4 separate regions of the Homo sapiens genome follow, and regions 2, 3 and 4 are each linked to region 1. The links are contacts of gene promoters, found by promoter capture Hi-C in blood cells and fetal thymus (Javierre and others, 2016). All regions are on one chromosome and are shown on one strand. The core of a region is centred on a gene start or on the middle of the fragment in contact, and the rest is flanking DNA. Distances in the headings are between cores, read along the strand shown.

Region 1 (2,579 bases), core at 80-2,579:
GGGAGGGAAGGGCCAGACAGGCTGAGGCTCCTCTCCATGGTCCAGGCTCCGGTCAGAGTCCCCACTGAGCACATACCAGGGGACCCCCAGCAGCAACCAGGCCCCCGAGCAGGTGTGACATCAGTGGGGGAACAGCACCTTCCCCACCCTTCTCTGAGCCCAGCATCAGTGGGTGGAGGAAGCAGAGCTGGGGCCTGGCAGCCTCTCAGGGCCTCCTAGGAGGGTGAACACCCAAATCCTGCCCTACCCAAATCCAGAACCAGGAGGCGGGGAGAGAACAGGCGGCCTCCCAAGGAAGGACTCACCCTGCTTGGCCATGCAGGAGGAGGAAGGCTGGCCTGAGAAGGATGTGAGACCAAAATAAGAACAAGCACACCCCCACCCCCGTAGGGCCGAGGAATATTCCCGAGGGTCCTGAATGTCAACGAAGTGCGTTTAAAGCCTCCGTCAGCCTTCTGTCTTTGGCTTTTCCTGCCAGGCTTCTGTAACTTCTGTGTTTTTACCCTGTTTTATTTATTTTTTAAGACGGAGTCTCGCTCTGTCACCCAGGCTGGAGTGCAATGGCACGGTCTCGGCTCACTGCCACCTCTGCCTCCTGGGTTCAAGCAATTCTCCATCCCAAAATATATTTATCTTTTAAAGGAAGCTTTATGTCACTAACATAAATGGAAAATGGTGTCCCTCCCCTAAGTAGAATGTGCTCTAGAAGAAAATGTACTGCAAATGTTAAAACCATAGGCCAAAATTCTAGCTAGAGATTCACACTTGGTAGAGGCTCTGCTTCCCAGGCCTACAGCTGTTTGTTAGAAAGAGGCATGGAGAAGCACTAGGCAGGAGCTAAAAACACCATGGCACCAAGAAGAGACTCCGTCCTTGAGTATACAGGAGGAGGGAGGAGAGTTAAAAATGAAGTCACTCTCCCCACCATGGTGTTCTCAGCCAGTGGGAGCTGCCCAGCCCACACCTCTGTGAGGCAGGCAGGACCGGTCACTGCTCCCACTTTACAGATGAGGAAAACTGAGATTCGGAGGAACAACCAGCAGAGCCACGTTTCTCAGGGGTCTCCTAGTTCCCACCTTCTGGGAGCAGGTGAGGGGCCACCCTCAGTCCTCCACAGACCTGATTCCAAAGCCCATCAAGGCACTGGCGGCACAGTGGGACCCCCTTCTATAAACCGGGGTTGAGATGTGGTTCTGTGCCCAAGGCGCGGGCCCCTGAGGGCCTCCTGCCTCTGGAAATAGGCCCCAAGGCTGCACTGGGGGGATAAGCCAGGCTATTTTCATCACTTCCTTCCGCCCGCTCCCGCAGCGGCCACCTCAGCTGTATCCCATAGAGTTGCCACCCAGGCCTCAGCCAGGACCTTTCAGGCCAGACAGGAGCACCTGACCAAAGGCTTCACAGGTAAGTGGCCCTCCGTATTACCCAGCATGGCCTCCCACAGGGAGAGAGGAGGTCAGTTCCTGTCCCTTTAACAAGACAGGGTTGGGTGGGACATTCCCTCTGAGACACCATCTCCTTGGCTGAGTCAAGATGAGTGAGTTGATTTGACACTTATTCACTGGAAACCTGCTGTGGGTAGGGGGAGCTCTGCTGGTGGAGGGGAAACGCCTGTGGGGAAGAACCAAACAGAGGGCCACGGTTGCCGAGACCCGAGTGTGAGTCTGGCCTCTGACACCACACCGGTGGCCCTGGGCACATTGCTTTCCCTCTCTGGGCCTCAGTTTCCCCAAGTCAGTGTTAGCCCAGATGAGTGGTTTTCCAGATGGGGTCCCACTGAGTTCCCCTCCCTGCTCCAGCCAGTGTCCCTGTCCTGCTGTCTTCTGCATCTGGGAATCAGGTAACAGCTCACTTAGCTGGTGGGGGGTGCTGGGCGCAGCCTGCAGGGCCCTCCAAGGCTCTTTCCTAGTCTCTGGGGACTGTGGTCCTGGGCTGGGACTCATTTAGCAGCCATCTGCTCCTCTCATCCCCAAGCAGGGGATGGGGTCTCTGCTAAGGGCCAGGAAGTCCCTTCCCCTTCCCAAAAACAAACTTACCCAATCCACAGCCGCCCTCACCGCCCGGCCTTCTACGGTGTCCAGAGACAGTTAGCCAGGCCTGGGCTGGGCACACTCCACCTTCCCTAGTCACCAGCTGGTTTCCCAGAGGAGAAGGCTGAGACCCGAGAAGGGAGGTGAGTGCACCCCGTCCCATGTCAGGCTCCGCTACATCCCCAGTGCTTGCCGTCCCTGAGGATCGGTCCAGGCTGCCAGGCCCTCCCTCACAGCCCCTCTCTCTGCAGCCAGCCTGTCCCATGCCTGCCTGGGGAGCCCTGTTCCTGCTCTGGGCCACAGCAGAGGCCACCAAGGACTGCCCCAGCCCATGTACCTGCCGCGCCCTGGAAACCATGGGGCTGTGGGTGGACTGCAGGGGCCACGGACTCACGGCCCTGCCTGCCCTGCCGGCCCGCACCCGCCACCTTCTGCTGGCCAACAACAGCCTTCAGTCCGTGCCCCCGGGAGCCTTTGACCACCTGCCCCAGCTGCAGACCCTCGATGTGACGCAGAACCCCTGGCACTGTGACTGCAGCCTCACCTATCTGC
Region 2 (2,579 bases), core at 47-2,546, 230 kb after region 1:
TGGTAGAAACTGGAGTTTGCCATGTTGCCCAGGTTAGTATGTACAACGTTTATGCCCAGAGAAACCCATTAGAGACTCAGGGTCCGAGGTTTTTATTGGAGGCTGATCATGTAGGCACTCTACCAGATACCTAGCAGGTACCAAAATTTCAGACTCCCAGAAGGAAAACAGGTGTTGGCATAAACTTTATTGTTTACACAGACTAGGCGGAATAAACCACCCTTATGAGTTGGGGAAAAGTGGGAATACTCTCAAAATCTAGTTCTGAGTTGTTGAGGGCCAACCTTGTATATAGGTTTTCCTAAAAATAGCATCCTCCAGTGCTTTGAGAGACCGAGGCAGGAAAATCACTTGAGCCTAAGAGTTCGAGACCAGGCCAGGCACAGGGGCTCATGCCTGTAATCACAGCACTTTGGGAGGCTGAGGCGGGTGGATCACAAGGTCAGGAGTTCAACACCAGCCTGGCCAGAATGGTGAAACCCCGTCTTTAGTAAAAATACAAAAATTAGCTGGCGTGGTGGTGGAAGCCTGTAGTCCCGGCTACTCGGGAGGCTGAGGTAGGAGAATCGCTTAAACCCAGGAGGCAGAGGTTGCAATGAGCCAAGATCGTGCCACTGCACTCCAGCTTGGGCAACAGAGCGAGACTCCGTCTCAAAAAAAAATAAAAATAAAAAAATTCGAGACCTGCCTGAGGAACATAGTAAAACCTCATCTCTACAAAATTAGCTGGACATGATGGTGTGCACCTGTAGTCCCAGCTACTTGGGAGGCTGAAGCAGGAGGATCACCTGAGCCCAGGAATTCAACGTTGCAGTGAGCTATGATTGTGCCACTGCACTCCAGCCTGGGCAACAGAGCGAAACTGTCTCTAAAAAACAAAAAAGTTTAAAGAAACTAAACCTCTTTGCATCCCTCTACCTTATTCAAGCAGAATGTCTTACATTCTAGTAAATATGATTGCTAAAGAACTCAAGTTACCTACATCATGATAAGTCATTAAATTGTTTTTGGCTGGTTGTGGTGGCTCACACCCACAATCCCAACACTTTGGGAGGCTAAGGTGGGCAAATCACTTGAGCCCAGGAGTTCAAGACCAGCCTGGGCAACATAGCGAAACCCCATCTCTATAAACAATACAAAAATTAGCTGGGTATGGGGGGGCGTGTGTCTATAGTCCCAGCTACTTGGGAGGCTGAGGTGGGAGGATGGCTTGAGCCAGGAGGTAGAGGTGGCATTGAGCCAAAATAGCGCCACTGCACTCCAGCCTGGATGACAGAGCCAGACCTTATCTCAAAAAAAATAAAAAAATTGTTTTCAAGTAGATTCCCTGTTTAAAAATAATCTTGAATTCTTTATATTTCAATACTCCTAAATAATGTAATAAATACATATGTTAAATTAGGTTAGAATTTCATTATGATCTCCTCACTAGATCTTCTCTCCGTGGCAGGATGCAGACTCATCTGAGCGTATCATTGCTCCCATGCGCTGGGGCTTGGTCCCTTCTTGGTTCAAAGAAAGTGATCCTTCCAAGCTGCAGTTCAATACTACCAACTGTCGTAGTGATACCGTAATGGAGAAACGGTCATTTAAGGTAGGTGGCTGGTAGCTATTAGTGCCCCGTATACCTCAGAAATAAGGTTCCAAAGGGTGTTTCCATCCTAGCCTACAGAGGACAACCAAAAATAAATAAATAACACAAAAAAGAATGTTCCCAGTTGTTAATGTGGAATGCTATTTTGTTACTACATAACAAACCACACCAGACTTAGTAGTGTGAAACAAAATGATAAACATTATCTCTCATATTCTCTGGGTTGACTGGGCTCATCTGGGCAGTTTTCACTTGGAAGTTCTCATGTTGCAGTTAGATGGCAGCTGAGGCTGGATGTCCAAGATGACTTCTTCACCCACATCTGACCCTTCAGCTGGGATGACTAGAACAACTAGAAGGCTTTCCATATGCCTAGCTCGAGGGTGTCAGGGTAGCCAGGCTTCTGTTACGGTGACTCATTTACCCCAGAGCTCATGATCCAACAGAGCAGGACAGAAGATATAAGCCTTTGTCTTACAGCATCACTTAATCTTGGCAGTCATACAGCATTACTTATGCTGTATTCTTTTATTGTTATTGTTTAATTTTTTTTTTTAAATAGAGACAAGGTCTGGCTATGTTGCCCAGGCTGGTCTCAAACTCCTGGGCTCAAGTGATCCACCTGTCTGGGCCTCCCAAAGTACTGGGATTACAGGTGTGAGCTATCACGCCCGGCCTACTTCTGTTGCATTCTATGGGTTACACAGAGCCAGCCCAAATTCAGTGTGGGAGGTGTCTACATAGGGTGTGAATACTGGGAAGCATGCTTCATTGGGGAGGCACCTTTGAAGACTAGCTATGACAAGTACCTATTTGTTAGAAAAGAGGTGATTGCTTTTATGTACATTATTTAATCTTTTCAACATCTATGTGAGTTGTGACTTTCTTTATACATAAGAAAAGAGAGTGGCCGGGCACGGTGGCTCACACCTATAATCCCAGCACTTTGGGAGGCCAAGATGGGCGGATCACGAGGTCAGGAGAT
Region 3 (2,579 bases), core at 29-2,528, 200 kb after region 1:
CACTCAGGGAACTGAGTCACCCCATCTTGGTGGCAGGGCCTGCTGCTCATGCACGTCTATTTCATTTAGGTGGTGGTTGTCCAGGCCATCAGTGCCCTGTGTCAGAAATATCCTCGCAAACACGCCGTCCTTATGAACTTCCTGTTCACCATGCTGCGGGAAGAGGTAAGAGTCAGGGGCATTCGGGGGATGCCAGGTCTCCTGGTGCAGGGAGTGACCTGACCACTGGCTCCATGCTCAGCTTTGTGCGTGTGCTTATGTTAGCCTGTTAACCAACTGGTTTTCATGGTGCCTGCAACCCTTTAAACTCCTTGTGGACATGTAAACACGTACCAATTGCTAGTAATTACAGTAATAACTATGACTCACCAGCCTGACTTTAAAAACTGGATGTCCTGAGGTGATGCTTGTGCAGAAGATGGGAAAATGCATGTTCTTTTCTGGTGGACTCTAGTGCAGAAATATTCTAGACCATTCCAGGAGCTCTAGGAGTGGTTTCTTGTGAAACCGGTGCTAATAATACGACATTGGTTCTATTTCTGTTCCCGACGTGAATTACTGATTCACTTATGCCACCTTTCTTGGACGTCTCAACAAAATGGGTTAATTCTTAGGAGCAATAGCAGATGTTCATGGAGTAGATTTGTTCCTCAGATACATGGTACCCCTTTCACCCAGCCCCAGAGTGGCCCATGGACTAGGCAGTAGAGGAGCCATTGCCTTGAGTGTCTTTGCGTTTCCCAAGAATGTTGTTGTAGAAGGGCACTAATGTTTAGTGAGTTGTCAGCTAATGGGCCCAGCACTTTGGTGATTGTGTTTGTTTTTTTTAAGTAGAGATGGGGTCTTGCTGGGTTGCCCAGGCTGGTCTCAAACTCCTGGCTATAAGTGATCTTCCCACCTTAGCCACCCAAGTTCTGGGATTACAGGTGTGAGCCATCATGCCTGGCCAGGCCTAGCACTTTGGAGACACTGTATGCATGATAGCAGTTTTTTTTTTTTTCTGTTGAGTAGGAGTCTCGTTCTGCTGCCCAGGCTGGAGTGCAGTGGTGAGGTCTTGGCTCACTGCAACCTCCACCTCCTGGGTTCAAGTGATTCTCCTGCCTCAGCCTCCCGAGTACCTAGGACTACAGGTGCCCCCCACCACGCCCGGCTAATTTTTTATATTTAGTAGAGACAGGGTTTTACCATGTTGGTCAGGCTGGTCTCAAACTCTTGACCTCAGGTGATCCACCCACCTTGGCCTCCCAAAGTGCTGGGATTACAGACGTGAGCCACTGCGCCCGGCCTCCATCTGTCACCCAGGCTGGAGTGTGGTGGTGTGATCACGGCTCACTGCAGCCTCAACCTCCTGGGATCAAGCAATCGTCTCACCTCAGACCCCCAAGCAGCTGGAATTATAGGCATGCACCACCATGCCCAACTAATTTTTCTATTTTTTGTAGTGATGGGGTCTCTCCATGATGCCCAGGCTGATTTCGAATTCCTGAGCTCAAGTGGTCCACCCACCTCAGCCTCTCAAAGTGCTGGGATTATAGGTGTGAGCCACTGCACCTGACCAGCCTTTTGTTTGACAGGAAAGAGTGATAGAGGCCCAGAGAACCAAGTGCCCTGTCTCCAAGTTCTGTGTTTGGACAACTGTCCTTGGTCCAGCTCAGGTCTTCAACTCTTTTCTGGAGAGAGCAGGCTCCTTGCTTAGCTCAGCTTCTCTCTGCAGGGTGGCTTTGAGTATAAGCGCGCTATCGTGGACTGCATCATCAGCATCATTGAAGAGAACTCAGAGAGCAAGGAGACAGGGCTGTCACATCTGTGCGAGTTCATCGAGGACTGCGAGTTCACAGTGCTGGCCACCCGTATTCTACATCTCCTGGGCCAGGAGGGGCCCAAGACCACCAATCCCTCAAAGTACATCCGCTTCATCTATAACCGAGTGGTCTTGGAGCATGAGGAGGTCCGGGCAGGTAGGTCTGAGCCAGGGCTGAACTTGGAAACTTAGCTTACCCTTGAATAAATGTCCCAGCAAAGGGACCTGAGCCTCCAGTGGGGATTTGTGCACTCAGTGTTCTTGCTGCACAAGCTGTTTTTCATAATATTGTAGGCAGGACCTTACATGTCATCTAGTTGAACAGTTCTTTGTTTTTTGTTTTGTTTTTTTTTTTGAGATGGAATCTCGCTCTGTCACCAGGCTGGAATGCAGTGGCGCAATCTCAGCTCACTGCAACCTCCGCCTCCCGGGTTCAAGCGATTCTCCTGCCTCAGCCTCCCGAGTAGGTGGGACTACAGGTGTGTGCCATCATGCCCAGCTAATTTTTGTATTTTTAGTAGAGATGGGATTTCACCATGTAGGCCAGGATTGTCTCGATCTCTTGACCTCATCATCTGCCCGCCTCGGCCTCCCAAAAGTGCTGGGATTACAGGCGTGAGCCACCGTGCTCGGCCATGGTTCTTAACCCCTATAATTTTTTAAGTATTTTTTTAATTGAGACGGGGTCTTGCTATGTTGTCCAGGCTGGTCACGAACTCCTGGGCTCAAGCTATCCTCCTGCCTCAGTCTCTGAAAGTGCTGGGATTACAGAGCCACT
Region 4 (2,579 bases), core at 28-2,527, 140 kb after region 1:
AGAACCAGTAAATAACTTCCCATTGAGAAGTTAGGGGACATTGGCCAAGGTCTTAGCATTTCCAGGGTTTCTTCCAAGGGTCTTTCTTGAAGGCCACATTAAATCTCTTGTGGTAGATTTTCTAGAGAAGCCAAGGAGCAGTCTCCTTGAGTTTCCTCACATCAGACCTATAGACCCTTACTCACTTTCTCCTAATACCTACTTTGATATATTTCTTTTTTTCTTTTTTCTTTTTGAGAAGGGTCTCACTTTATCACCCAGGCTGGAGTGGTGCAGTGGCACGATCTTGACTCACTGCAACCTCTACCTCCTGGGTTTAAGTAATTCTCCTGCCTCAGCCTCCCAAGTAGCTGGAATTACAGGCACCCACAACCATGCCCAGCTAATTTTGTTGTTGTTGTTGTTTTGAGACAGAGTTTCGCTCTGTCTCCCAGGCTGGAATGCAGTGGCGTGATCACAGCTCACTGCAACCTCTGCCTCCCAGGTTCAAGTGATTCTCCTGCCTCAGCCTCCTGAGTAGCTGGGACTACAGGTGCCCGCCACCATGCCTGGCTAATTTTTGTACTTTTAGTAGAGGCAGGGTTTCACCATGTTGGCCAGGCTGGTCTCGAACTCCTGACCTCAAGTGATCCGCCCGCCTCGGCCTCCCAAAGTGCTGGGATTACAGGAGTGAGCCCCTGTGCCAAGCAATCTATTTCTATGTGAAGGAGAATACACTGGGTTGTTACACAGGGGCATAAAAGGTGAAATTATATCTTAGGATTCACAGTAGAGAGGAAAAAAAGCTAACTCTGCCAACTAAAATTATAGAAGGTCTTGAAAACAAATCTCATCATTTCATGAAAACAAATCTCATCATTTCATTATATGTTTCTAAATTGCAGGCTGGGTGCAGTGGCTCACGCCTGTAATCCCAGCACTTTGGGAGGCTGAGGTAAGATCACTTGAGGCCAGGAGTTTTGAGACTAGACTGGGCAACAAAGTGAGACCCCTGTCTCTACAAAAAAATTAAAAAATAAAAATTAGCCGAGTGTGGTGGCACATACCTAGAGTACTCTAGCCTGGGTGACAGAGCAAGACTGTCCCTAAAATAAAATAAATTAAGAGCAGACTCTACAGGCTCAGAGTAGACAAGGTCCTGGTATCTAATAGCGTACTTGGCACATGGGCCTTCAATGAACTATTTTTTTTTTTTTTTAGATGGAGTCTCGCTCTGTTGCCCAGGCTGGAGCACAGTAGTGCAATCTCGGCTCACTAAAAGCTCCGCCTCCCGGGTTCATGCCATTCTCCTGCCTCAGCCTCCCGAGTAGCTGGGACTACAGGCACCCGCCACCACGCCTGGCTAATTTTTTTTTTCAGTGGAGACGGCATTTCACCGTGTTAGCCAGGATTGTTTCGATCTCCTGACCTCGTGATCCGCCCACCTTGGCCTCCCAAAGTGCTGGGATTACAGACGTGAGCCACCGCGCCCAGCCAATGAACTATTATTGAATGAATACCTCATTTTCCCTCTTGGCATCACACCTGAGATTGCCTGATTTGTACGTTGTCCTCAGAGCCAGCATTTATTACATTGCATTTGAGAGTCGCTAAGACAAGGCATTTTCCACACGCTTTTCCTGTTTTTTAAGTACCTTCCAACCTTGATTTGCTGATAACAGCAGTTGGCTTGTATTTTATGCTGGCCTTTGCAATGATACAGCAAATGGAATCTGGAATCTCCGGAATCGATGTCAATATGAATAGTTTCTAAGTGGAACTGCCATACAATGAGGAAGTTATCACTTACCCACAAGAGGTCTGTGACTTTGGAATCAAGTATATATAAGAAGTACTTTTTACACTGTAATGTGCTACTCAAATGTTTTGTTGTTATTATTATATCAGAAAACAACCCACAGGACCTTATAAATAATAATGATTCCAGTCATGTTCATCCTATGTGACAAAGCAATGGTTCTCAACATTTTTGGTCAGCTAATCACTTTGGCAAAATATCTCAAAACTTCGTATCTCAATTACCCATACTACTCAGTCCAAGAGTTTTGCCAGAATAAATAGGAAGAGTAGAGCTACTTTTAATTTCTGGTTTCCATTAGCCTTCTGCTGGGAAAGAGAAAAGAGATAGAGTAGAAAAGAGTTTCAAGTACAAGGGTCCATGACCTCCAAAGTCAACTACGTTGAGATTCTTGATGGTGAAGCAACAAGACAAGAAGCCAGGCTAAACATTGGCGACCCAGAAAAGGAGATAGAAAGGCCAGAGAATGCAAGACCTGCCACCCCGTGCCTGCTTTCACCTCCTCATCTGTACTTGCTGGTGTTTCTTTTTTTTTTTTTTTTTTGAGATGGAGTCTCGCATTGTCGCCCAGGCTGAAGTGCACTGGTGTGATCTCGGCTCACTGCAAGCTCCGCCTCCTGGGTTCACGCCATTCTCCTGCCTCAGCCTCCCGAGTAGCTGGGACTACAGGCATGAGCCACCACGCCTGGCTAATTTTTGTACTTTTAGTAGAGGCAGGGTTTCACCATGTTGGCCAGGCTGGTCTCGAACTCCTGACCTCAAGTGATCCGCCCGCCTCGGC

Evidence for each region. The method cuts DNA at HindIII sites, captures the fragments that hold promoters and counts their contacts. A CHiCAGO score of 5 or more calls a contact.
Region 2: a contact is called between a fragment that was not itself captured here and the fragment with the promoter of GP9 in region 1, in 1 of 17 cell types (neutrophils). The highest score is 5.8, in neutrophils.
Region 3: a contact is called between a fragment that was not itself captured here and the fragment with the promoter of GP9 in region 1, in 1 of 17 cell types (naive CD8 T cells). The highest score is 6.1, in naive CD8 T cells.
Region 4: a fragment that was not itself captured here is called in contact with the fragment with the promoter of GP9 in region 1 in 4 of 17 cell types (naive CD8 T cells, total CD4 T cells, non-activated CD4 T cells and 1 more); the score reaches 6.6 in naive CD8 T cells.

What each region holds. Positions count from the first base shown.
Region 1 is chr3:129,059,450-129,062,028 of GRCh38, forward strand. GP9 (glycoprotein IX platelet) reads left to right here and starts at 1,330. Exons shown (of 3, transcript NM_000174.5): 1 at 1,330-1,401; 2 at 2,045-2,170; 3 at 2,279-2,579. The coding sequence starts at 2,291. The HindIII fragment of the contact is 4,040 bases long and covers 645-2,579 here.
Region 2 is chr3:129,287,404-129,289,982 of GRCh38, forward strand. It overlaps HMCES (5-hydroxymethylcytosine binding, ES cell specific), which reads left to right. Exons shown (of 7, transcript NM_020187.3): 3 at 1,451-1,594. Among named protein-coding and RNA genes, the nearest start is that of HMCES, 9.8 kb to the left of the region's middle. The HindIII fragment of the contact is 8,709 bases long and covers 1-2,579 here.
Region 3 is chr3:129,263,835-129,266,413 of GRCh38, forward strand. It overlaps COPG1 (coat protein complex I subunit gamma 1), which reads left to right. Exons shown (of 24, transcript NM_016128.4): 13 at 70-165; 14 at 1,715-1,958. Among named protein-coding and RNA genes, the nearest start is that of MIR6826, 7.0 kb to the right of the region's middle. The HindIII fragment of the contact is 2,735 bases long and covers 1-2,579 here.
Region 4 is chr3:129,197,938-129,200,516 of GRCh38, forward strand. No RefSeq gene overlaps it. Among named protein-coding and RNA genes, the nearest start is that of CNBP, 15 kb to the left of the region's middle. The HindIII fragment of the contact is 3,329 bases long and covers 1-2,579 here.